7 separate regions of the Homo sapiens genome follow, and regions 1, 3, 4, 5, 6 and 7 are each linked to region 2. Evidence: promoter capture Hi-C in 16 types of primary human blood cells and fetal thymus (Javierre and others, 2016). All regions are on one chromosome and are shown on one strand. The core of a region is centred on a gene start or on the middle of the fragment in contact, and the rest is flanking DNA. Distances in the headings are between cores, read along the strand shown. Region 1 overlaps CHST11 (carbohydrate sulfotransferase 11). Region 2 holds the start of SLC41A2 (solute carrier family 41 member 2). Region 3 holds the start of CHST11 (carbohydrate sulfotransferase 11). Region 4 overlaps CHST11 (carbohydrate sulfotransferase 11). Region 5 overlaps CHST11 (carbohydrate sulfotransferase 11). Region 6 overlaps CHST11 (carbohydrate sulfotransferase 11). Region 7 overlaps CHST11 (carbohydrate sulfotransferase 11).

What was found. Contacts are between HindIII fragments. The CHiCAGO score rates a contact against its expected background, and 5 or more counts as called.
Region 1: a fragment that was not itself captured here is called in contact with the fragment with the promoter of SLC41A2 in region 2 in 1 of 17 cell types (total B cells); the score reaches 5.0 in total B cells.
Region 3: a fragment that was not itself captured here is called in contact with the fragment with the promoter of SLC41A2 in region 2 in 11 of 17 cell types (naive CD8 T cells, total CD4 T cells, naive CD4 T cells and 8 more); the score reaches 8.3 in naive CD8 T cells.
Region 4: a contact is called between a fragment that was not itself captured here and the fragment with the promoter of SLC41A2 in region 2, in 2 of 17 cell types (monocytes and naive B cells). The highest score is 6.3, in monocytes.
Region 5: a fragment that was not itself captured here is called in contact with the fragment with the promoter of SLC41A2 in region 2 in 2 of 17 cell types (naive B cells and total B cells); the score reaches 6.6 in naive B cells.
Region 6: a contact is called between a fragment that was not itself captured here and the fragment with the promoter of SLC41A2 in region 2, in 2 of 17 cell types (naive B cells and total B cells). The highest score is 7.0, in naive B cells.
Region 7: a fragment that was not itself captured here is called in contact with the fragment with the promoter of SLC41A2 in region 2 in 1 of 17 cell types (monocytes); the score reaches 5.5 in monocytes.

Annotation. Positions count from the first base shown.
Region 1 is chr12:104,596,974-104,600,664 of GRCh38, forward strand. All of the region lies in intron 1 of CHST11 (carbohydrate sulfotransferase 11), which reads left to right. Among named protein-coding and RNA genes, the nearest start is that of MIR3922, 7.2 kb to the left of the region's middle. The HindIII fragment of the contact is 6,125 bases long and covers 1-3,691 here.
Region 2 is chr12:104,956,310-104,959,648 of GRCh38, forward strand. It overlaps SLC41A2 (solute carrier family 41 member 2), which reads right to left and starts at 1,981. Exons shown (of 11, transcript NM_001352171.3): 1 at 1,779-1,981. RefSeq lists silencers at 1,370-1,699, 1,890-2,159. The HindIII fragment of the contact is 5,296 bases long and covers 1-3,075 here.
Region 3 is chr12:104,455,966-104,459,434 of GRCh38, forward strand. CHST11 (carbohydrate sulfotransferase 11) reads left to right here and starts at 983. Exons shown (of 3, transcript NM_018413.6): 1 at 983-1,564. The coding sequence starts at 1,447. RefSeq lists enhancers at 652-701, 722-801, 1,722-1,771 and silencers at 872-1,001, 1,082-1,251, 1,292-1,571, 2,162-2,301, 2,462-2,521. The HindIII fragment of the contact is 4,131 bases long and covers 1-3,469 here.
Region 4 is chr12:104,560,317-104,563,880 of GRCh38, forward strand. The region is part of intron 1 of CHST11 (carbohydrate sulfotransferase 11); the gene reads left to right. Among named protein-coding and RNA genes, the nearest start is that of MIR3922, 30 kb to the right of the region's middle. The HindIII fragment of the contact is 2,784 bases long and covers 369-3,152 here.
Region 5 is chr12:104,642,806-104,646,431 of GRCh38, forward strand. The region is part of intron 2 of CHST11 (carbohydrate sulfotransferase 11); the gene reads left to right. Among named protein-coding and RNA genes, the nearest start is that of MIR3922, 53 kb to the left of the region's middle. RefSeq lists enhancers at 412-461, 1,359-1,408. The HindIII fragment of the contact is 9,948 bases long and covers 1-3,626 here.
Region 6 is chr12:104,580,473-104,584,100 of GRCh38, forward strand. The region is part of intron 1 of CHST11 (carbohydrate sulfotransferase 11); the gene reads left to right. Among named protein-coding and RNA genes, the nearest start is that of MIR3922, 9.3 kb to the right of the region's middle. RefSeq lists enhancers at 2,421-2,470, 3,297-3,366. The HindIII fragment of the contact is 836 bases long and covers 944-1,779 here.
Region 7 is chr12:104,493,976-104,497,400 of GRCh38, forward strand. All of the region lies in intron 1 of CHST11 (carbohydrate sulfotransferase 11), which reads left to right. Among named protein-coding and RNA genes, the nearest start is that of CHST11, 39 kb to the left of the region's middle. RefSeq lists an enhancer at 113-302. The HindIII fragment of the contact is 4,726 bases long and covers 1-3,425 here.

The sequences.
Region 1 (3,691 bases), core at 709-3,208, 360 kb before region 2:
CACAGTATTTCAGTTCTATGTCTTCAGACCTGAATTAACAATCCAGCATCTCCCCTGCATTCCAGCAGCACTGAGAGGGGTCACAGGGAGTCGCCCAGAGAACCAGGTGGGCTTCATTCCTTTGTCCTGAGCCAGCTCTCCGTGGGCTGCTCTCAGTTAGCAGACTGGGAATGGAGTGTCCACTTGAAAACAACGTGCTCTTCATTACAATGAAACAAACACGAGCGGCTTGAGTTTAATTTTAGCTTCATTTATGTATCGTGGGAGATATAGAACTGTTCCTGGGTCCAAGAAATCATACTGTAAATTGAGCTAATTAGATTCTTTAAAAAAAAATCTTTAATCCCATTGATTTGAGTTTAGAGAGGAGAAAACAAGTGTTGTGGCTAAATAAAACTCCCAGTGGGCGGGGTGGACAGCAGAAGCCTGCCGTTAAATGTCCTCAGGGCCTCAGGGATTTCTTTTGCGGGGCTTTTGATCATCAGACCTTTCATTTTTCAAAGGAAAAAAAAATAACCATAGCCTAATGCTACTGGCAGTTTTCTCCTTATATAGCAAGAACCAAACCTCTCTGATGCTCTTAAAGGAAGTGTTAAATCTTCTATCATTCATAAACCTTTTGAGTACCTACTACGTGCCAAGCACCACAGCAACAAATGAATAGGTTAGAGAGAGGCTCTATCCCCAAACCCAGTGCCTGGCGAGTTGCCCTGCACATCGTAGGTGCTTGATAAAAACTTGTCGAATGAATGAGTGTAATGAAACCATTAATTAATAGTTTGCCATCACAGCATTTTGATGAATCCTGTTGTATTTTGGACTTGTCCTGGAAGTGGCCAGCCAACCAGGTCTCAGGCCAGGAGGAGACTAGGGAGATGTTTGACTTACCTGTCAGTGAAGAGGTGACCCAGTGTGGCAGCTGAGACCATGGGCTGTCTAAGGCAGAATTCTGTCTCCACCTCTTTCTAGTCATGAGACCTGGGCAAGTTACCTAACCCTGCCATGCCTCAGTATTCTCATCAGTAAAGTGAGAATGGTAGTAGTACCCGCACCATGGGACTGTTGTGGGGATTAAATATGTGAACTGCTTGGCGAAGCATTGGTGCCCTCTAAAAGTTAGCTGCCACCATCTGGGCCTTGGTTACTCAAACTTCCCTAATGCCACTTGTAAGATACATGTGAGGTGAATATACTCATGTGCATAATTGCTGGTCCTTCCTTTGCATCCCAGGCAACAGAGTAGGTCCTCATTGTTACCATTTACATATGACTAGCCCAGAAGTCATTTGTGGCCCCTGGAAACCAAAAGCCCCCAGTGGTCTAAACCTGAGAGGGTACAGTGGAGCTCAGCTTCTAGGGAGGGTCCGAACCTTCGCACAGCATCAGCAGTAGGAGATGTTCTACAGCTCTTATTGTAGATGCTACAGTGTCTTCTGAGGTAGATGGAGCCAGGTTGTGTGGAAATTGTTTATTCTGTAATTGGATGCTCAAGAATCAGAAAGCATAAAGAGTATAATTTGTGTCTCTCTTCCCCATGGTGGGGAAGTCTTATTAAAATGCAGATTCCTGGGCCTTAACTTCCATCTCCCCCTCCTTCTGATTCAACAACTCTGGGATGAAGCCCAAGAATGTGCCCAGAAATCTGCTTTTTTAACAAGCAATATCATGGGGAAAGTGAGTAGGGCACACGTTGAGAAACTCTAGTTTTTGGAACATGACACGGAGGATTTGGGGAACTTTATCTTTTCTTGACTCTCCTTCTCATCCTTCCACAGATCACTGGGCCCCTCCTGAGTCGTCTGGCTCCTTCTTTCCTCTTGGGGAGAGATAAAGTGCTGGCCCAAGCCTCCCACCCTGGTGGGTGGGGTGGGCCTTGACTCAGTGGTCTGTATCCTCGTGGCCAGCTGGCCTAGCTGAGTTGGGAGGTGACCCTCACCTCACAGGTTGGGCAGCACCTGTCAGTCTCGAGGCTCAGCTTGGCTCCTTTCCACTCACATGACCTTGACCATGGCCAAGTGCCTGCAGCTAAGGGAGGCGCGGAGGGGTTATCTGTAAAATGCAGGTACTTCCTTTACCGTGGGAAGGATCACACTGCACCGACTGCCTGTTGCATAGCGAGCACTCCAGAAACGGTGGGGTTGTTATCATTCCCATAAAAGGCACACAAGGCCCCTTTAGCTTTTGTGGTCTGGGGAGCCAAGGCCGGTTCCCATGGCACCCAGTGAAGTCACGGGCAGGGCTGATGGCTGTGGGCAAAGAACCCAAGGTTCAGGCCCCACACGGTCAAAGCATTTTAAAGGCCTTGTATTAGACAAATAAACCAATTAAATAATACTGCCCCCCATAAAAGCAGACTTTTAATGGATTCCATGGTAGGCTTTTCACCGCGCGGTCCCGGAGCCATGGGCCTCGATGAGCCCGTCTGCCGCCATAGGGAGAATTTAATCTTGCCCGGCATGGGCATAATTTTACGAGTTTTATGGCTGTTTTTACTTCTCCGAAGTGTTGCTATGTCATTGTGCACCAAGGGCAACTTGCGTGCATTTCACAGTTTACCTCCTTTTTGGTGGAAATGAAAAATGAAGTCATAAATTAAAGAAAAACACAACATAGAATTTTTTTCCGTCTTCTTGGGGCAACTGGAGGAACAAAGAACCAGTGTTTCTCTGTACAGCCTGATCAAATTCTAATGGCTTTAATGTATTGACATTTGCCTGCGATTCCCTCCTCCCCAGGGAAGACTGTGGGCATGTAGCTATGTTTGGAGCTTGTACTACTGACCCCGAGAAGACCTGGGGCAGTTCTCTAGGGCAAGGGTTGGCAAACTCTAGCCCAAGGGCCAAATCTGGCCCACTGCCCATTTTTGTTCATTGGTGGAAAAAACTCAAAAGAAGAATAATATTTTCTGACACATGAAAATTAGATGACATTTTCCCAGATTTCCCTGTTCATCAGTGAAGTTTTGTTGGCACCCAGCCACACCCATTCATTTCTGTATCGTTTGGGGAGGATTTCACACCACAGTGGCCCTGCGGAAGAGTTATGACAGAGACTGCAGGGTGCAAAGCCTAAATACTGTTTGGCCCCTTACAGAAAATTTTGCTGACCCCTGCCCTAGGAAGTCAAGGAAAAGGAAAGAGAAAACATGGCATCTTGTTTCTGGGCATTGATGATTGACTTTCAGAGTTTCCACGTGGCTCAAAGTGACAAGTCAACGGAGGCTCACCTGAGCAGTAGTTTTTCCTCCGGAGACCTTCCAGATGTCATCAGCTGCTTTTGGATGACTCTCCTCCCTTTCCTGACCTCAGATTGACTTCTAAGCAGAGGTCCCTGGGCTAACCCCCTGCAGCCAGCCCTCCCAGTCATTTGAGCTGCACCCTGCTTGAGGTCTGGTCACTCCTCATCAGTCCCCTTGATAGCCACAAATAGAGAAGTTCCCGCCTTCCTCCCAGGGGGATCTAAAATAGCTTCTGAAATTTGTCACCAACACTTTTAAACTGTGGCTTTTGGCCAGGCACAGTTTTAAGCATTCTGCACATAGTAGTTACTCATTTAATCTTCACATCCAACCCAGGAAGTTAGATGCCCCTGTCATTCCCATTTTACAGACAAAGAAGCAGAGACACAGAGAGGTTAGGTAGTTTCCTTAAGGTCACACAGCTGGTAGTGGTAGAGCCAGTATTGAAACCCA
Region 2 (3,339 bases), core at 731-3,230:
TCAAGTCAGTGCCAGTATCCAAACCTATTAACAGAAATTTTTTTCCATAAATGAACAATAAAACTCAATAAAAAGCTAAGCAACCCAGACTGGCCGTGGTGGCTTATGCCTGTAATCCCAGCACTTTGGGAAGCCGAGGTGGGCAGATCACTTGAATTCAGGAGTTGGAGACCAACCTGGCCAACATGGTGAAACCACGTCTCTACTAAAAATACAAAAATTAGCCGGGCATAGTGGTGTGTGCCTGTAGTCCCAGCTACTTGGGAGGCTGAGGCAGGAGAATCGCTTGAACCCCGGAGGTGGAGGTTGCAGTGAGCCAAGATTGTGCCACTGCACTCCAGCCTGGGTGACAGACTGAGAGTCAGTCTCCAAATAAATAAATAAATAAATAAATAAAAATAAAAAGCCAAGCAACCCAATTAAAATATGGGTAAAAGATATGAACATTTTCTCCAAAGAAAATATATGAATGGCCAATAAGCACATGAAAAGATGCTCAGCATCCCCAATCATTAGAGAAATGCAAATCAAAACCACAAAGAGATACCATTCCACACTCACTACGATGGCTATCATAAAAAATAACCAGTAAAAAAGTAACAAGCCTTGGGGAAGATGTGAAGAAATCGGAACCCTCATACACTGCTTAGTGGGAAAGTAAAATGGTACAGCTGCTTTGCTTGGCAGTTCCTCAAAAAGTGAAACACGGAGCAATTGCCCTCCTAGGTATATACCCAAGAGCACTGAAAACACATGTCCACAAAAACGTGTAAACAAATGTGCATAGCAGCATTACACACAATGGCCAAAAACTGGAAACAACCCAAATGTACATCAACTGATGAATAAACAAATGTGGTACACTGATACAACAATATTAATATGCTATAAAAAGTAAAGTACTGATACATACTACATGAGTGAAACTTGAAAACATTACAGTATGTCTTTCGACGCCAGACACAAAAAGCCACATATTGTACGCTTCCATTTATATGAGATTTCCACAACAGGCAAACCCATATAAACAGAAAGTAGATTAGTGGTGGCTAGTGGGGTGGGGTCAAGGGGAAATGAGGAGTGATTACTAAGAGAGACAGGGTTTCTTTTGGGGATGATGATCTGGATAGTGGTCATATTTGGAAAACTCTGTGAATATATTAAAAGCCACACTTTAGAAGAATGAGTTTTATGGCATGTGATGTATATCTCAATTTAAAAATTGTCACTACAAAAAAAAGATGACATATATACGTAATATACACATCAATGTATATCGGTAACACATAGATATGTGTCATCTCTCTCTGTAAATGAGCATTTGGGCTTTTAAATTTGAGATATGCTCCGTGTATATAAAGAGAAGAATGAAAGAAAAGGGTGACGGGGCACTCGCGGAGCCCTGAACAGGCATCTGGGGTGTGCCCGAGCCAGCCTCGCAGCATCTCCATCCCAGCTCACCTTCAGCCATCACTCATACACCACCCGCCGCCTGTCCCTGCCTTGGGCGCCCGGGACCGCTTGTCCGCGGTGGCCGCGGAACAGCTTCCCTCAGCCCGAGGTGGGGCAGGCGCGGGGGCCTGGGCTCGGGCGCTGCCCGGCGGCCCGGAGAGGCGTCCGCAGGGGGCACGGCTGCTCGGGCGGGGCCGCTCCCTCTGCTCCCCGCGCCCCCGCCGCCGGGTCCCGAGCCCAGGCCTCTCGGCCCCACCTCCCTCCCGCACCTGATGCGCCCGAACGCGGCGCCGCGGCCGAAGCCGAGACTTCCCCTCCATGGTCACCTGTTCCGGAGCGCGGCGGCGGCAGCGGCCGGTGTGAGAAGGGTCCCCGTCTCCTCAGACCAGACCGAGACACCAGGGGCGGGGGATGGAAGGGGCATTCACCTGGTGCCCGGCACCGGTGGTGGCGGGGAGGACAGCGGCTCCCAGCCCACAGCTCCTTCCTGCTCCCGCGCCTCCTCGCGCGGCTGCGGCCCCAAGCTGACAGCCCGGCCGTCGGCGCCCGCGGCCCCCTGACTCCCCGCCGCCCCGCCCCCGCGCGGCAGCCCCGCGCAAGCGCAGCCGCGCCGCCGCCGGGGAAGCCCGGGCCTTGGTGATGTGGCCCGCGGGGCGGCGACCCGGAGCGACAGCACCGCCCCGCCCGGACCCCGGCCGCGCCCTGGCAGACAGCTGTCGGGAACGGGGGCGCTGGATGACGGCAAGGGGGCAGTTTTCTGGGGAGCCTGCCCAGGAGAGAAGGGCTGTGGCCTCCTTCGGCATCCCTCTTCCCCACCAGCCCACGCACGCCCACTTCACCGCCTGCTCCAAGGTCCGAACCCCCGAATCCATGACTCATGATTTCTCTTCTCAGACCAGCGGCCTCTTTTTGGCTGAGGTCATGTTTCTTGCAGACTGGAGTTAAAACCGAACCACGTGTCTTTCGGCCCAGCAGCGCATAGTGTGGGCGGTGCAGGAGCCGAGACGGGCAGGAACCACCGCAGGAGGGGGTGAGGTTTAGGGCAGCCCCATAGCACCCTCCCCGTGCCAGGCAGGTGTAGGCGCCAAGCGCATGGGGCGCTGAAGAGTTGGCTGGGGTGCCAGGCTTTTCAAGTTTCCCCACACTTGCTTTTAAACCTAGATCAAACTGATCCAAAGTCTGCATGTAAATCCGAGAGCTCATTTATTTTATTTACAAAACTATTGAGCATCTACTGTGTATGATTCAGGGAATGAGACACACCCCAGGGATACTCCAGTGAACAAAAGAAAGGTGTTGGTCCGAAGACAGTTATTTTAAAAATTACACAGCTAATGCCATAATGCCAGGATTGGTGGCTCATGCGTGTAACCTCAACACTTCGGGAGGACCAGGCGAGAGGATCGCTTGAGGCCAGGAATTTGAGACCAGCCTGGGCAAACACAGCGAGACCTGGAGTGGCTAGGAGACTGAGGTGGGAGGATCGCCTGAGCCCAGGAGTTCAAGGCTGCAGCGGGCTATGATCGCATCACTGCACTCCAGTCTGGGCCACAAAATGAGACCTTGTCTCTAAAACAACAACTCAAAATTACACAGCTAATGATACTCTTTTCCTCAAATCAAAGCTTCTACCAATTCCAAGCCACACCAGTGATTTAGTAGCAGCTTTTCTGGTGCTGAAGGACACCAGCATACATTTATCCATGTTCTTTTTTTTTTTCCTTATGCTTTGCGATCAGACTTTGAGCTTTAACCTTAACCTTCAGGGTGAAGGGTGCTTCGGTATCACTCTTGGCCATCTGCAGTCATGCTTTTTATAATGACTCATCCTGGTGTTCCTCACCACCTAAAAATGAAAGTATAATTGCAAGGAATATGGAAAAGCAG
Region 3 (3,469 bases), core at 443-2,942, 500 kb before region 2:
ACAAAGGTTAGTCTAACTAACATTTTTTTTTTCCCTGACATACGAGTGATCCCTACACTATTGGCTGTGTCCACTTTATTGATTGTGAAACAGCCTAAATGCATGGAATTGGAAACTGGAAGTCATTCTACACAATACAAGAAAGCAGCACCATCTTTCCATGTACCTGCCAGTGCTATGGCTGGCTTGGCTTTTCCAGCAGTTTTCTGGACTTGGTTGAGGTGGCTTCCTAGGGGCATTTTCTCACCCCCTCCCAGCTAAGACTGCTGTTAATTTTGAATAATTTGGAGGATGCTCTACCCTTTGGGGTAGCAGAGTTTTGCAACCCACAGATCCCTTTTGCCTTGAGGAATGGTGGTGATGGTGGGTGTCAGAGATTCTGTCTGTATAAGTCCCCGGGAAAGCTCAGCTGTCGCCTGACCCGAGGGTCGTGCAGTTTCCTTAACCCTGACTTTAAGTCAGCCCTCTTTAACCCCGACTCCCAAGCTGGGCTGTCCTTTGAAAGAAAAACGAAACCGCCCAGTTCTGAGCGTCGGAAAATGGGCACTCGCTCCCTGGGGGTTTGGGGCAACTTCCCCGCTACGTCGCCCAGGGATTTTAAATAATTGCCAGCCACCAGAAACCCCCTAACCCTTAATTCTTCCCTCCGAGACCCAGCCCGCTGCTTGCCACTTCCCTCTCCAAACGCTGGCGGGGGTGGGTGGCAGCACCGAGGCGATTTTCTTCGTCTTTTTTTCCTCCGGGTTTTGTCATGGAAACGCTGACACAACCTCCAGACGGCGGCCGAGCCCGGCCGGGGACTGAGGGCTTTTGGGACCCTGCGGGAGCGCGGCGCGCACACCGCACTCCCCGGGCAACAGCTGGACGCGACCATATCCCGGGTAGGGGCGGGGGGAGCGCGACGCTCCGCCCCGGCGCTAGGGTCCCTCCCTCCTCCCGGCTCTCCGCAGGCGCCCTCCCCTCGCCGGGGGCCGCGAGTTGCATTTGGTAAAACCCAGCCCCGGAATATATAGATCGTTGGAGCGCAATGAAGTAGCCTTTGGAGAGAAGGGAGAGGGCCCGTCGGACAGCCACAGCGGCCAGCGCAGCGGCAGCGGCGGCGGCACCACCATCACCGCTCGCACCCCAGCCGCCCGGCCCGCGACCAGGCAGCGGCGGCCGCCGGCGGGATCGGAGGAGGCGGCGGAGCGGCGAGGAGGAGGAGCAGGAGCGCGCAGCCAGCGGGTCCACGCATCTCAGCACTTCCAGACCAACTCCGGCACCTTCCACACCCCTGCCCGGGCTGGGGGCTCCGAGAGCGGCCGCGAAGCGACTCCGATCCTCCCTCTGAGCCTTGCTCAGCTCTGCCCCGCGCCTCCCGGGCTCCGGTCCGCGCGGCGGGGTCCCTGCTCCTGCGCCCCGGGCGCGCTTCCCGGACACCCCGGTCCCCGCAGCCAGGACAAAGCCATGAAGCCAGCGCTGCTGGAAGTGATGAGGATGAACAGAATCTGCCGGATGGTGCTGGCCACTTGCTTGGGATCCTTTATCCTGGTCATCTTCTATTTCCAAAGTATGTTGCACCCAGGTAGGGGGCGCGTTAGCGTGGTTTTGTTGGATATTTTCTTCTCTCTCGCGCTCTAGCTCGCTCCGCCTGATTTCTGCCTCTTCCAACCCTACCTCTCCGCCTTCGGCCTCTTCGGGGCTCCTGGCTGCCCAGAGCTCCTGGCTGCCCAGATCTACCCGGGTCACCGCGTCGGGATGGGGAGGAGAAGGGAAGGTGTGCTTCGCCCTCTTCTTCCTACCGGCTCCGGGCTGGAGGATGGGACCAGGAGGGGCGGTAGTTTTTTTTTTTTTTTTTTTCTTCTTCTTTTTTTCTTTGTGTCCCTTGTCTGTCTGTCTGCGAGGTAGCAGGGAAACGGAGAGGTGTGGGAAGCAACCGGGGGTGAGGGGCTGGTTTGAGGAGAACGAAACTCCCTCCCTGCTGCTGCCGAGGTCGGAGGATGAAAGAGTTACCCGGAGCCGGCTGCTCTGCGCCCGGGCGAGCCGCCTCTTCCTGGTTGCCGGGCCGGGGGCGAAGGGTGTACGCCCCGGCGAGGTTGCGAGTCCCTGCAGCAGGCTGGGAGCCCGGGACTGGGCTCCCACGTGTCCCGGGCTCCGCGCAGAGCTGAGCAGGTGTGGAGAGTGGTCGGGTGCCCAGCGTTGCCCCTCCACCACGCGCCGGCCGTTTGCCCCCGGGGTCCGGCTCCGCAGTGACCTTGCGGCTGGTGCCCCGGGGCCTGCTCCAGCCCCCAGCCCTGAGCTGGAAACTCCGAGCTCCTGGGTCACGCCTTGACCACTGCAGTTTTGGAGGAAACTTTGGCCAGGTCCTGGGCTGACCGTCCGTTTGCATCCCCCACTTCTGGGATCCGAGCAACGGGAATCCCCCGGGCGGCGTGGGAATGAACCCCATTCCTCCGGTCCCTTGTGGCTCAGGCAAAGTTCCACGTCCGAAATCTGGACTGGGGGAGGGACGAGGCTCGTCGCTTCCTAGGGGTGCGAGGGAAAGTTTGGGTTCTGGAGAGGGAGGGGCGCCCTCGAGCGCGGCGGCCGGGGGTGAGCAGCTCGGCTGCGAAGCCCAACAGGTAGAACGTTCCGAGAAGCCTTCCGGGTAACGCGGGTCTCCCCGCCAAGCCGTGGCTCCCCTGCTCCCTTTTACCCTCCCTTAGCAGCCCCCTGCCGGGCCACGTTGGCTCAGAAATCCATTTTCTACGCCTCCGAGTTGCCTTTCTCAGCGTAGTCACAGCAATAATTTGCTTTTCTAATTGCAAGGAGGAGGGAGGTGGAAACGCATTTCCTTCCAGGGAAGTGGGGTTGGTGTTTTTCATTTTTGCCTCCCGCCTTCTCCTTTCACTGTGTATCTAACACTTTAAACAGACGCAGTCCCGAATTCATCAAGCCTGCGTTTGGGTCGATGGCAGAGGAATAAAGCTGTTCTTTCCATCAAACAGGCAGGGCTGCAGGCTGCAGATTCCTTGACAGCGCAGGGACAGACGGCCCCTTTGCCCCACTCGGTCTGGAGCAGTTGTTAAGGCAGCCACACTGCCAAGGATATGGTCCGACTCTACCACATGTAACCTCAGGACGTCCGAGCCAGCCCTGTTAAAGATGGCTTTTGTTTGCAGCTGGGTATTTTTAGTTTAATGTCAGCAAACTACAGCGGTGTTTGTCTCCTCACCCAAACCTGCGGTTGTGAAACTTATAAAGGAATTTAAAAATGGACCTGGCTTGCATTCCGGCAGGCAGGCCTTGGTTGCAGTGGGCAGGGCCAGACAGCCAGGGGTATCTCAGAGTGCCAAGCTCCAGGGCCCACCGGAGACCGGGCCAGACTCACCCCAGAGCGCCAGGGGACTGGTGGTGTACAGATACACTCGGGTTCAAACAGTTTAAACAAGGGGCCGGTGATTTGGTCTAGACTCTAGAGCTGTGTTCAGGTTTCGCTGGGACCGTGAAT
Region 4 (3,564 bases), core at 511-3,010, 400 kb before region 2:
CAGTTTACCTTCTGCTCATAGATAGAGAGGCACTGCTTTGTAGTTAATCTAAGAATTCAACATGGCAGAGGAGTGGGAAGGTTTGGTTGAGCCATGGGGGGGTTCATGGTACCTTCTAGGAATTCAGTCTTTGATGGGGTGAATTTGATGTGTGCTATTCAAACTCAAAAACATGGATCAGCACCGGGAAGCATCTTGAGATAGGGGTGGGAAGAGACGGTCATACCTCAGCAGGCAGCATTAGTACTTTATGGTACTTTATAATTGGGCAGCAGAAAAGGCACAAGACTTGAATTTGAAAGATAAGGTTTCTAGTTCCAGTTCCTCCACTTATGGAGTGGTCTTGGATTTGTCATTTAACCTCTACAAGCTTAGTTTCTGCAGGTGATGTCCTTGTTCTGCTTTTCCATAGTGAATCTGAAAACCCTTTGCAAACTGTTGCTGCTACATCCTCCATTATAAACCCTTCTATTAGACTGTGAGCTCCTTGAGTATGGGGGCTGCATTTCACGCATTCTGGGTCTCTTGGAATTAGCAGAATGCCAAGGTGCTCACTGGATTTGCTGTGAATCGAATTCTGCTGTGACATTGCTGTGGTCAGCCATGTCTTCCGGGGACAGAGTCTGCAACAGAAGTGTCACATAACCTGGGAGAAGAGTGCTCAAATTGGAGCTGAAATTCTAGCTCAGTGACTTAGAGGGGCTTGGCTTAGACTAGTCACTTAACTTCCTTATGGTACTTTTTCCCATCTGCGAGATGAGTAAGATAATTTTACCAAACTCATGTGCTATTTGTGAGTGTCAGATGAAGAAACATGAGTGTATTAGGTTATAGGACTGGCTGCTATTCCATGGCAACCAGATAGCAATGGCTTTCAGAAGATGGGAGTTCATCTCTCACTAAACAGTCCTGACATGGCCTGATGTGGCGACGCCATGGCATCAGAAGCCCAGACCCCTCCCATCTTGTTGTTCTGCCCCCACACTGAGGGTTGACCTTATCCATGTAGCCCAGGATGGCTCTCCACTACATTCTTATCCCTTGCAGGGAAAGGGGGAACAGTGACAAAGGGTGTCTTCATAATCCCATTGGCCAGAACTGGGCCATGTGGTGTACTTCTTGTTCAAAGGGGTTTTTAGCTGGTCTTTATTCTAGGTACCAGCGTGCCTGACTCAGTTTCTAACACTATGAAAGAAGGCAAGACCAGGTTTTGGGGAACAAGTGAAGTCTCTGCCACAGCAAAATAAAAGATAATTCTGAATTTTGAAGTGGAATGATTCAGGGCTCACCCACAGCTTGAATTGGAAATGATTTGATTCTGCTGGAGTCTAATGGAAAACAACGCCCTGTATCTTCTGTATTATTATTGTCATTGAATGCTTGCTTGGTGCCAGCCACTGCGCTAAGGGTTTCATAGGTGCTATTTCTGGTTAATCCTCACAACGGTCTTACTGCGTAGGTCCCATTATTAGGTCCATTTTTTTTTTTTTTTTGAGACAGAGTCTCACTCAGTCGCCAGGCTGGAGTGCAGTGGTGTGATCTCGGCTCACTGCAACCTCTGCCTCCCGGATTCAAGCGATTCTCCTGCCTCAGCCTCCGGAGTAGCTGGGATTAGGGAGACTGAGGCTTAGGGAAGTCAGAGGAGGGATTGGAACTTGGGAATGCTGGACTCCAGAGCTCATACCCTCAATAGCTCCTACTGCCCAGTCTCCTGGTTCCAATCTGGTGTTTCTGCTCTGGATATATCTAGTTTTTCTGCCCCCACCTTCCTGGCTGGGCCTCGTTTCCAGAAATGCCACTGACATGGAGGGGACACTAGTGCTCTGGTTGGTGTTGTTCCTAGCAGCACTGTCATCCACCCGAAATGGAATTGATTCGCAGAAATACGGGTCACCACGGAGGAGCCTGCTCATGCTGGTAGGAGAGGGCTTAGGTCCCACAGAGGTCAAGTGGGCAGGGTTAGGAAAACCAGCTCTAGGTGGACAGATATGATTTGGGAATTACCATTTCGAAGGGATTTAGACTTCCTACTGCCTTTGAGGGTCACCTGCAGCTCTGTAAACACAGAGAAGATGAGGCCATCTTCCCCCTGCACCTGAGTTACTCTGGTAGGAAAAAGCGCAGAGCCCGTAATAGTGGTCAGAGCCTTTGCTTGAGCCTTCCAGAACCTTCCCTGGCCCAGAGCAAAACTCAAAAGTCTCCTCAGGCTAAAGTGACTGCACTTTGTCCTGTTGGCAAATTGGTTGGTTTAGTGTGTTTAGAATTCAGCACCCATTTCTCAATGATATCAAAATCATTATCCAACGAAAGGTGATCGTATCCTGGTTTAGTTGCAAGATTTTAGAGCTCAAGGGGGCTTAGGCATTATTAATCCAATCCTTATCTCACAGAGGACCAGAAAGCCTGCCTGCCGGGCCTGCCCAGGGTCCGGTAGCTACGTTGAGTTAGGGCTGAGTCTTTGGGGGCCCTACCTGAGCATGAGGGACAGGACTTTGTGAATTCTCATATAGGCAACAGAGGTGGCAATTCATGACGACTGGACATTTGTCTGCCTCTTGGCACCTTCTCAAAGCACATAATGGGTTAAAGGGGCATTCTTGATTCTCCACTGTGTTGGCTTACCATTTTGGTGCCTCAGTTTCCCCATCTGTGAAATGGGTATGGTAGTAACAGAACTCACCTCATAGAGGGTTGTTGTGAAGTGGTTTTTTTTGTTGTTGTTGTTTGTTTGTTTGTTTGTTTTAGATGTAGTCTTGCTCTGTTGCCAAGGCTGGAGTGCAGTGGCATGATCTTGGCTCACTCAACCTCCGTCCCCCCGGGTTCAAGTGATTCTCGTGTCTCAGCCTCCCGAGTAGCTGGGATTACAGGCGCTCACTACCAAGCCTGACTAATTTTTGTATTTTCAGTAGAGATGGTTTTGCCTGTTGGCCAGGCTGGTCTCGAACTCCTGACCTCAAGTGATCCGCCTGCCTCGGCCTCCCTAAGTGCTGGGATTACAGGTGTGAGCCACTGTGCTCGGCCATTGTTGAGCTGATGGTGTCTGCTGTGCTTAGACCGTGTCCAGCATGAGGGAAACACTCAAAGCAGTCGTTGTGATCACTTCCATAGTAGCCTTTTTCACTCTCGCTCAAGGGGCTGTATGCTCCTAAGAAAGCTTGGGGATCTTTGTCTCATTCATCTTTGTATTTCCTAGGTCACATCATCCATCAGCTTAAAAACTTTTTTGTTTACCTTGACTATCTCCAGTGTGCCATGCATGAATTCTTCAACAGTCATAATAGCCTTTTCATCCATAAATGTAATTTTAGCTTGTTTAATAGCCTCGCAGAACATGACCTTTTCCATGATAAATTGGCAGGAAATAAACCCATCCTTCTTCCATGGGGTAGACTGTTGAGATGGTGGGGGTTGGTGTTCTTGTTCTGGATCTGGTGGGAGTGGTTGTGGATGTTTGCTCTTGGTGGTTTTCAGCGCACATGTAAGGGGCTTTCTGGGGTTGTATGGTTCGGGAGGGGTTTGGAGTAGGCTCTGCTTGGCCCTGGAATGGGTCAGGTGGGGAGCGTT
Region 5 (3,626 bases), core at 584-3,083, 310 kb before region 2:
TTTTTTTTTACAATGAACATTTATTACTTTTATAATTAAAACAAGAATACTTTTTAAAATTAAGAAATTATGCAACTAGATATGTAGTCAAGTAGAGGTTGCTTAAATACTAAGGTTTATTTTCAACTACTAATTACTTTCAAAAGTATTTTAAGGAACACATTGTCATACCAATTAGATGCCCACTACATGCAGGTTTTGTACATTTCATTTACTTCTCAAAAAGCCGTGTTGTAGGCTGGGCATGGTGGTGCACACCTGTAATGCCAGCACTTTGGGAGGCTGAGGCGGGAGGATCACTCGAGGCTGGGAGTTCAAGACTAGCCTGGGCAACATAGTGAGACCCCTGTCTCTACAAAAAAATTAAAAAATTAGCTGGGCATGACGGCACATGCCTGTAGTCCCAGCTACTTGTGGGAGGCTGAGGCGGGAGGATAGCTTGAGCCCAAAAATTTGAGGCTGTAGTGAGCTATGATTGTGCCACTGTGTTCCAGCCTAGGCAATAGAACAAGACCCTATCTCTTAAAACAAAGCAAAACAAAAAACCGCAAACCTTGTTGTTGCTCCTCACCACCCATTTTAGAGATGAGGAAGCAGAAGTTTGGAGGGTTAGATACGTCAGATGCAGAGATGGGGTTCTACCCTGTGTTTTCAAAGTCCAAGTCTTTCCCTCTGTACCATGGTAGGGGCAGTGTGCCACTGTAGTGGGTAGCGTGTTTGTGTGGGATTATCAGTAACAGATTTCTTCCAATATGCTCTTTTCAAGAACTCCAGCACATTTAGGGGATTTCCATTTGAGGAACTTAAGAGGACATTCAGAGACTTTTTCTTCACACACACACACACACACACAAAGTTCTCATGACTTTTTTTTGTTGTTGCACTTGAGGAGTTTTTCCTATCTGGAAAATTCCTTTGCCTGGAATGGCTTATTCTAGATCAGGGATGGAAACATCAGTTGTGCCTGAGAATCTGGTCTGGGTCTCATGAGCGTGTTTTCCAGCTCCTGGAAAGCCAAGACTTCACTGTTTTAACCCAGGGTAAGAAGGGACCTCTCTAGAACATTTCTCAGCTGTCATCTCATAAAGAGACTTGTCAAACCTGATTCCTCTGGTACCAAGAGGAAGCAATTTGAATTTTCTTATTTCCTCTGGAGTTTAGGGGTGCAGTTAGCAAACAAAGGAACCTCTTAGGTCTCTCTGCCTTTGCTATCTGCTAGTGGAGACTGCTTTTCTTGGACGGTTTCTGCAAGGAGCTGTCCGGCCAGTTGTGGATTGGCTCACGGGATGGAGAACTGCTTCCTCTGAAGAGAGGGACTTCTGCTTCCTCCTCACTGTGCTTATTGCTGCTCAGAGGCTGCTGGGAAATCTCTGCCGCAGCCACCCTCCCAGCGTGCACCTCCTGGATATCTGTCCATGGAAGCTCCTGGACACCCCCTACCTTCCCTGCATCTGGGTGGACTCCCGCATGCACTTGCTGCATTTCGTCTCAGGTTGCCTTTTGACTCTCCACCGCTTATGATTCCACTCGGTGGCCTCCCTACTGATGTCTTTCCTCAGCCATCTTGTAAGTGGTTTCTCCTTGGTTCCAGCCCTCACTGAGGCCAGATTCTGTTTCCTGCCTTCAGTGTCTAACGTGTGGCCAATCCTCTTTCTTCAAAGGCAGAGTGGCCCTGCTTGCATCTGCCAAAAAGACACACCTGGGCTCCCTGCAGCTGGCGTGGTGCTGCCTGGGCATCCTGCCAAGCCAGCATGCCCTCTTTCTAGGGGAGCTTTCCTGCTTCTGGTTTTCAAATCCTTGAAGCAGCACTGGGGAGGCGATGAAGAGGGTCAGGTTTGGAGTCTCTGGCTGAGTCCTGGCCCTGGCCCTGGCAGGCAGAGTGCAGCTGGGGTGGTTCTGTCTCAGAGCCCGGTGGCAGACTGACCAGTGTAGGTAGGGGAAGACTGGCTGGACCTCCATCTCAGATCTGTCCCTTGAAAGTAGGGTTGGGATGAGACCCCTTAGAGGCTTCAGTCTGGAAGATAGTGCAGGAGCAGAGCTGGTAGGATTTGCTGTAGAGACCAGCCCTGTGCTGGAACAGGCCCATGGCTTATCTGCATGAAACCTGAGGACAGATCACTGCAGCGAGCCTTCTTCCACTTTTTTTGTTTTGTTTTGTTTTTTGAGACAGAGTCTTGCACTGTCATCCAGGCTGGAGTACAGTGGCATGATGGCTCACTGCAAGCTCTTCCTCCCAGATTCACGCCATTCTCCTGCCTCAGCCTCCCAAGTAGCTGGGACTACAGGCACCCGCCACCACGCCCGGCTAATTTTTTGTATTTTTAGTAGAGACGGGGTTTCACCATGTTAGCCAGGATGGTCTCGATCTCCTGACCTCGTGATCTGCCCACCTCGGCCTCCCAAAGTGCTGGGATTACAGGCGTGAGCCACCACGCCCGGCCTTCCACTTTTAAATTAATAATAATAGTTCCCATGGTTGGAGGGCACCCACTCTGAGCCAGGTACTTGGCAATAATCCTCTGAGGTGGAATCTGTGATTCTCATCCCCACCATACAGGTGAGGAAACTGAGGCTCAGGAAGTTAAAGAACTGACCCAACAGAGAGCCAGGGGGCTGGGCCAGGACTGGAGCTCAGGCCTCCTATTCTGCTTTGCAAGAAATATTTGTGTTGGAAGCCCAGCTGGGCTTGTTGGAAAAGCAACCTGCAGGTGGGGGTGGGCACCGCAGTTGTCTTTATTTTGGCCCCTTCTGAGTTTGCTGTTTGTCTGCCTGGGCTCTGGGGGGCCCTTCCCACCCACTCACCTTCCCCTGCTGGTCCTGGCCTCCAAGGGCTCCAAGTCCTTCCCCCCCACCCTCCCCTTGGCTTAGCTGTGGACTAATCCCTTTTCCCATTAGGTGAGCCAAGACAAGATTAGAGCTTTATTAAAAGGAAATTAAACTAGGAAATGAAAGGATAAACAAACCTCAAACAAGAAAAAACAACAGCACCAAATAAGATGAGTTGACAGAGCACCACTCTTTATCCTAAAGGGTATCCATCTACCTACAAATTAGGGTGTGGCTCCCAGTGGGGCCATCATCTCTTCTTCCACCCTCACCAGCTCTGCCTGTCATGATCAAGCTCGTCATCATGGTGGCTTCAGCAAACATGTTCTTTGGGGACCTTGGTGATGGCACCATACTCTCCAGCGCTTTGCTCACACTAGCCCCTCCCCTGATTTCTTTCTGAGTCCCGCATGCAGGATGCTGCCGGCTCAGCCAGTGCCTCCCTGGTGAATGGACCCAGGTAATGGCTCCCATGCTGGCTTCCCCTACAGGGGAGAAGTTGCATTTCATATCCTCTATTCCACTTTCCAGGGCCCTGCGAGATCCACTCCCCGCATCCCGTTAGTCTGCCCTCCTTCCATGCCTCGCTTCCACCCCACTTTCTCCTCCTCCTTTTCTCTCTTGCTGCAACCTCTTGGTGGCCTTTGCTGGCAGTGTTCCTCCTCTCACCTCCACTTCACTTGGCCAACACCTACTTAGTCTTCAGACCTTGTCTTAAATGTTGCTTTCTCAGGGTACCTTTCCCTAACCTCCCTAAACTGATTTCTCATGGAACCCTGGAGTTCACCTTCATCGTAGTG
Region 6 (3,628 bases), core at 112-2,611, 380 kb before region 2:
TAGACATGTCGATTATGGATAAATTAAAGGCAAAATAAATGAATATTCAGTATGTCAGACACAATCAGAGAATGGTAGAAAAATATGTAACTTAACTTTCAACCTCTATAACAGCTAGGATTGTGCCCCATGCAAAGCTTCCTGGAAGTTTGGGAGCCCAATTTTTTCTCTCTACTTGTTGTAATTTACTTCTAGGATATAGCTGGGCCAGGAGGATTTTGTCAAGAAATGGGTGCTCAGTCTTCTGAGGCTCCATACTTCAGTTGGAAGGAAGGGGAATTTTCATATTTCTTGTTTTCTTTTTTTGTAGAGACGGGGTTTCAAGTCCAGGCTGGTCTTGAACTCCTGGCCTCAAGCAATCCTCCTGCCTTGGCTTCCCAAAGTGCTGGGATTAAAAGCATGAGCCACTGCACCTAGCCTGGGTTTTCATATTTCTTATAATTGTCTCAGAACTTTCAGTTCCAATACACTCATCGTGAAAAGCAAGTGAAGCCTTGAATATTGATGTTTATTGAGATCAGGACAAAGTGAAAGGCAAAAATCTGAGTGCCTTTTCTGCCTTTTCTGGTGTTTTTCTGGCCCTCCTGTTCTGTCCTGATTTCTGTCCCTGAACTCCTGACCTTGGACATGCAGGAGCTACTTCTCCCATCAGCCTTTTCTGAGTAGAACCTCTGATAAATGGATGCTTCTTGCATCCTTATCCTTGAGGACTTTGGACTCTGATCCCAAGGGTGTTGGCCTTCATTAGCTTCAGGGTGTTGACTTGCATTAGCTTCTGCTGGGGGAACAACCTCAAGCTTGGCCAGGTGGCAGATATCTGGAAGTCTTCATGACATACTAATATTTGTTGAGATATTAGTACTATCTATGTTTATATATGTATATCTGTGTTTATGATTCAAGCACAGCTGTGTCAACTGTTTAACAAAGTTTTATGGGAGAAAGCTTGATAATTGAGGAAAATTTATCCCTATTTATTTATTTGAACCACAACTTCTTGTAGTTTTTCAGACTTTGAGAAAGCTGGTTATGATTTGATGTAGTGGCCAAACATTGTCGAGTGACTGGAAACCGTTGATTTAAAGGAACACTGCCTGGGATTTCTGGCCTCAGTGAGGGCTGAGGCAGTTATTTGGTGGGCAGGAGGGTGGGGAGGGTCTTTCTGGGTACTGCTGAAGACCCACTACCTCTGTCTAACCTGACAGAGACTTCCCCAGCTGTTCATGACATCCAGGGCAGTGACCTTGGCTGTGTGAGGAGTGGCTCGGGCACAGGTGGTCTCAAAGGGCCTGTTACCCTGGAGCTGCCTCCCTGCATCTTAGCAAGCCTCAGAAGGCACAGGGCATTTTGATGCTGTGGCACTTTGCCATTTGAATTTGAGGAGATTTGTCTTGGCTTGGAAAACAAAGCATTCAACTTGTAGCAAACTAAAAGAAAAAGGAAGAGAAGTTGAGAACAAACACTCCATCCAGGAGTTTGGGCTTTGAGATGGGGATGGGGATGGGACGGAGGGAGGTGGAAAGGAAGTAAGGGATGCACTACGTCATTATCGTCAGCATCATCATTCTATCCTTATTTCATCCAGTCTAAGAAGACTATGGTTGTAGGATGCATCCTTATTTGCGAGAAATTGAAATATGGAAATGTGCGCCTGAGAGTTGTGGCAGCCAATGCACTCAGTGCTTTCCGCTCATGTCCTCCTCTTAATAACTTTATCAGGCAGGTTCTCTCATTATTTCCATCTTATTGGTGAGCAAACTGAGATGCAGGGGGTTAAGAAGCTTGCAGAAGATCACTCTGCTGGCCAGTGGAGGGGCCAGGATTTGAGGCAGGAATTCTAACACCCTTAGAGCCTACCCTTGGCTACAGTGCTCTGCTCCTGAGCAATGAAATCAGCGTTGGGGTAGTCATGTGTGTGTGCGTGTGTTTGTGCTTGAAGACTTTGATGTCAGCATTTTGACCAGATGTGTCAGACAGATATGTTGCCCCTGCCCCATCACCTTTACTGAGTTACTTAAACCCCAGGCCCCTGTTTTCATGTTATTATCTTTACTAAGGGATGCAACTGGAGTTTAAGTTCTTTCTGTGCATTTCACGTCCCCTCTGCACGCCCTTCTCATGGGGCCAATCACTGTTGGGAACACTCAGAGATAATAAACATTTCCCTGCTGTATCATCCTAGAGGATCTGTCATTTATTAACTGTGTACCGTTGGCAAGAACCTCTCTGCACTTGTTTCCTCATCTGTATGATAGAAATAATACATCTCGGGATGGTAGTGAGGAAGGGAGGGTTATATAAAATGACTTCCACTGAAGTGCCTGCCTGGCATTCAGCATTGTATAGAGCCGGAACTCCAAATGTCTTCTGCTTGTACCTGTTTTCCTTCTCCCCAAGTCACCCAGCTCACAGGTGGCCGCAAGCTCTGAACTGGAACTGTTTCTAACACATCTGGCTGCTTCCCCTAGAGACAGACATGCAAATAGCTTCATATCCTCTTGTAGCTGTAACCATTTGCAGACACCTTATTGTCTTACAGCTTTTTAATTTGCCTGCACAAATAGACCTGCCTGGCCAACTTGGAGGGAATTTTAATATCTAAGTGCGGCCACATACATATGTGTTGTATACTGGGGCCATGCCTTCCTGCTTATCAAGGCAACAGAAATCTTGTACATGGTTTTCTTACTTTCTGGATAAAGATGGGACCTTGTCTCTCCATTTTGTCATAACACTTTTTTATCTTTACTTTAAGATGAAACCCTCCTTAAAATTGTGAGTGTTTCCCTGGATTTCCCTGGGGAGAAACCACTACAGTGGCTTTGATTCTTTTTCCCCTCCTTGGGATCATTCTGATCCCATTCCATATCTTTGGAGGGTCTATGGAATGGGGCTCAGCTTTGCATCTTGGATTCACAAGAAGGGAAGCAGGGAGTGAGGGAGATTGGGGGACCGTGGGCGTGTTTCATCAGATGCAGCTCCAATGGCCTTTTCCCTCTGACCATATTTCAACAACCACACTTGACACACAGCCTAGCCTCCCCCAAAGCTCACGTGTGCACCCTCTGCCCCTGTCTGGGGCCTCCCCTATTCATTTTCAGATCGATTCTGACACCTGCTTTTATCTCCCTTACCCCTTCAGCACTTCTTGATGGCAGCAACTTAAGTTATACTTAAGCATCCTATATTCCTAAAATATGCAGAAATTAAACAAATGCCTTGTGCTCTCAGTTTTCAAAGATCTCTCTCTTTTTTTTGAGGATGGAGTCTCACTCTGTCGCCCAGGCTGGAGTGTAGTGGCGAGATCTCAGCTCACTGCAACCTCTGCCTCCTGGGTTCAAGCAAGTCTCCTGCCTCAGCCTTCTGAGTAGCTGGGATTACAGGCACCTGCCACCACACCCAGCTAATTTTTGTATTTTTAGTAGAGATGGGGTTTCACCATGTTAACCGGGCTGGTCCCAAACTCCCGACCTCAAGTGATCCGCCCTCCTCGGCCTCCCAAAGTGCTGGGATTACAGGCGTGAGCCACCGCACCCCGTCCAAAGATCCCTTGAGTAAAAATATTCACATCAGTGGCTGCAGATAGATAATTGTTTGGTTTTTGTTGGGGAAATTCCAACTCTTTGTT
Region 7 (3,425 bases), core at 759-3,258, 460 kb before region 2:
ACCATGCCTGGGTAATCTTTTGAGATCTCACTGTATTGTCCAGGCTGGTCTTGAATTTCCGGGCTCAAGCAAGCCTTCTGCCTTGGCCTCCCAAAGTGTTGGGATTATAGTGTGAGCCACCGTGCCTGGCCTAACAAGATGTCTGTATGTGAAGCCACATTCCTGGCCCATCCACAGTCACGAGGACTTGGGACTACAGGCTGGGTGACAAAATTGAGCTGATTTCCCCAAATCTCCAAGGAGATCCCCTCTGAAGAGATGCCGTGCCGATGAGAGACAGAGCCTGCACCACGAAGCAAAGGCAGGAGCTTGTGAGCTTGTGAGCTGACCCCTCTGGCCTTGGCCTCTTAGTGTCTATAGCCCGTCACTGCCTTAAAGCCACCACATCACATGTCACTGTTCTTCAACACTGCTCTTATTTGAATGTCTCAGTGATAACATCTCAGAAATGAAAAACAGGGTCTCCACTTCTGAGGATGTGACAAGTGAGTTGGAGGCAGTTTCCCAGGGGAAGGATTTTTGTCTCAAAGCATTAAAATAGAATCCGTTCTAAGTCAGAATATTCCTTTTAAAGTTAACTTCACAAAACTTCTCTGATCTTGATCCTCTTGCTAGCAGCTGACTGCCGAGGATGGGTTCCAGCGCTTCTCAGAACAATGTCGTAGGCGTATTAGCTCTGTAAGTCACCACGAATTCAGAATAATAACTGTGGGGTGGGGTGCGGGCTCACTGATTGACTCGGAGGCATCTAGAGTTCATTTTGTAAAACACTTAAACAATTCAGGGTGTTTTGTTTTGTGGGTAGATTTTTAAAAATAATTTTAAAAATGTAAAATTGTGGTTAAAAAAGCACAATGTAAACTTTACCATTTTAATCCTTTTTAAGAGTACGGGTCAGCAGTGGTAAGTATATTCATACTGTTGTGCAACAGATCTCCAGAACTTTTTTGTTTTGCGAAACTGACATGCTGTACCCACTAAGCAAACAACAACTCCCCATTTTCTCAGACCCCCTGAGCTTCCAGTAACCACCGTTCTACTTTCTGTTTCTATGAGTTTGATAACTTGAGACACTTCAGATGCGTGGAGTCATACAGTATTTCTGTTTTTGGGACTGGGTTATTTTGCTTAGCTTAATGTCCTCAGAGTTCGTCCATGTTGTAGCATGTGACAGGATTCCTTCCTTTTTAAGGCTGAATAATTCATTGTATGTGTACACCACATTTTGTTTATCTGTTCTTCAGTTGATGGGCATCTGGGTTGTTCCTGTGTCTTGGCTGTTGTGGATACTGCTGCTGTGAACATAGGTGTGTAAATATCTCTCCGGAATCCTGCTTTCAATTCTTTTGAAAGAATTGAAAGAAGTGGGATTGCCAGGTTTTGTGGTAATTCTATTTTAAATTTTTTGAGGGCCCACCACACTCTTTTCCACAGTGGTCGTGCCATTTTATATTCCTACCAACAGTACACAAGGGTTCCAGTTTCCCCACATCCTTGCCAACACTTGTTACTTTCTAATTTTATTTTTTTTTGATAGTCACAGTCCTAGTAGGTGTAAAGGAATATCTTATTATGGTTAAACAGTGTAGTTTTATTATTTATACTTCAGGTAACCAATACATAAATTAGTACTAATAAAAATTGATAACTACTATTTATTGAGTGCTTATTAAGTGTTCTAAGCATCTTGCATGACTTAATTCTCATTACATCTCTGTGAGGAAGAGGTTCCATTTTTACCCATTTTATAGATGAGGAAATTGAGGCTTGGAGAATGTAAGGAACTCATACAAGGTCACACAACGAACTGAAGCCTGTGCCTGGATTTGAACCCAACCGTCTGGCTACTAGGGTGTTCTCTGGCTTTCTTTTCCTAATTGACTATGCTCTTTAAAATTCACATCTTCAGCTGACCCATATCAAGAAAGTTATAGAAGATAATGACATCCTGACTCCTGAATGGAGTTCCTTGAAGTGCCCAGGAATGAAAACTTGGAATAAGGCCCATGCCTCAGTCATCACTGATGCCTCGGATAGCAGACTTAAGCGAGGGCTTTAGAAATAGTGGCCTAGTCTCCTAAGCCCTGGGCTTGTAAAATACTCTGTACTTTTTTGGTTTGAATTCCCTTGTTAAATGAATAATAGAAAATGTGAGGAGAGAGGCACAACATTTTTTTCTTGACACTATTCCACTTTGAGTTTGGTTTCTATTCCAAATCTGTGTGTGTGTGTGGCAGTGGGGAGGAAGGTGTGTTGATGAGTTATTGTTGCATTAGAAGGTTCACTCTTAGAGCCACCAGATTTTCTGGAAAGCCATACATGTGCTATAATGCCTGTCAAATAAAAAATCAATGTGACACAGTTGGTTTAATTTTTGTTAATCTTTATCATATTTAATTTTGTTTTTTGACTAGACCTAATAATGGGCCAGAGGCCTTTAGGCACTGTTGAAGTGACTGCTGGCCACAATTCCCCAAATCAGCTGTAATGTTTGTGTTGGATTATTGTATTAACAAATGCTTCAAATTACATTAGAAAAAAATCCGTTATGTTATTTTAAGTTGGGGGACCAATTCCACACTCACATCTGGTAATCCTATCAGTAAATAATGGCACAGGGCCATTCTAACAGGGCCAATTAAGTCTGCAGGGCCTCTCTTCACTCTTTGATATGTTTTGTGAACATTTTTCTTATTTTGGTGCTATGAAATGAAGTCTCTGTCAAGAGCTCAAGTCATAGACTAATCCTCAAAACTTTTTTTTTTTTTAAACAAGACAAAGAAAATATGAGATGTTGTTTCCTGCAACAAAATCCTAGAGAGTTTGTAGGATGTTTTATGTATGGTGTGTTTTGAGGATCGTGGAACTGAGAAATCCACAAGAATTTGCCATCCAGAAAAACTTTCCACTGGAGGTGGGGAAGAGGGGCCTGCTTGACTCCCTCATGGGCTCAGGCCTACCTCTGCAGTTATGATTGTGGATAATTTAGCCCCTCTTGCAACAGTGTGGTACTTGCTACTCTCACCTCTGACTTGTGGATGAGAATACCTGCCTCCTGGGACCTCTCCTGGATATCAAGCCCCTGGTTTCTGTCATAAGACGTTCACTTAACAGGTGCTATACCTCAAAGGACAGATATTGTCATTTTTGTTTGCTGCAGGCTTAATTTTGTTCCCCTAAAGTTCATATGTTGAAGACCTAACCCCCAGTACCTCAAAATGTCACTACATGTGGATATGGGGTCTTAAGAGAGACAAATAAATGATTATGAGGTCATTAGGATGGGCCCTAATCCAATCTGCCTGGTATTCTTGTAAGAAGAGAAAATTTGGATGCACGGAGGCACCACGGTTGTGCACGCACAGAGGAAAGGCCTCATGGGAGGACACGGCAAGATGGTGGCCGTCTGCAGGCCGAAGAGAAAG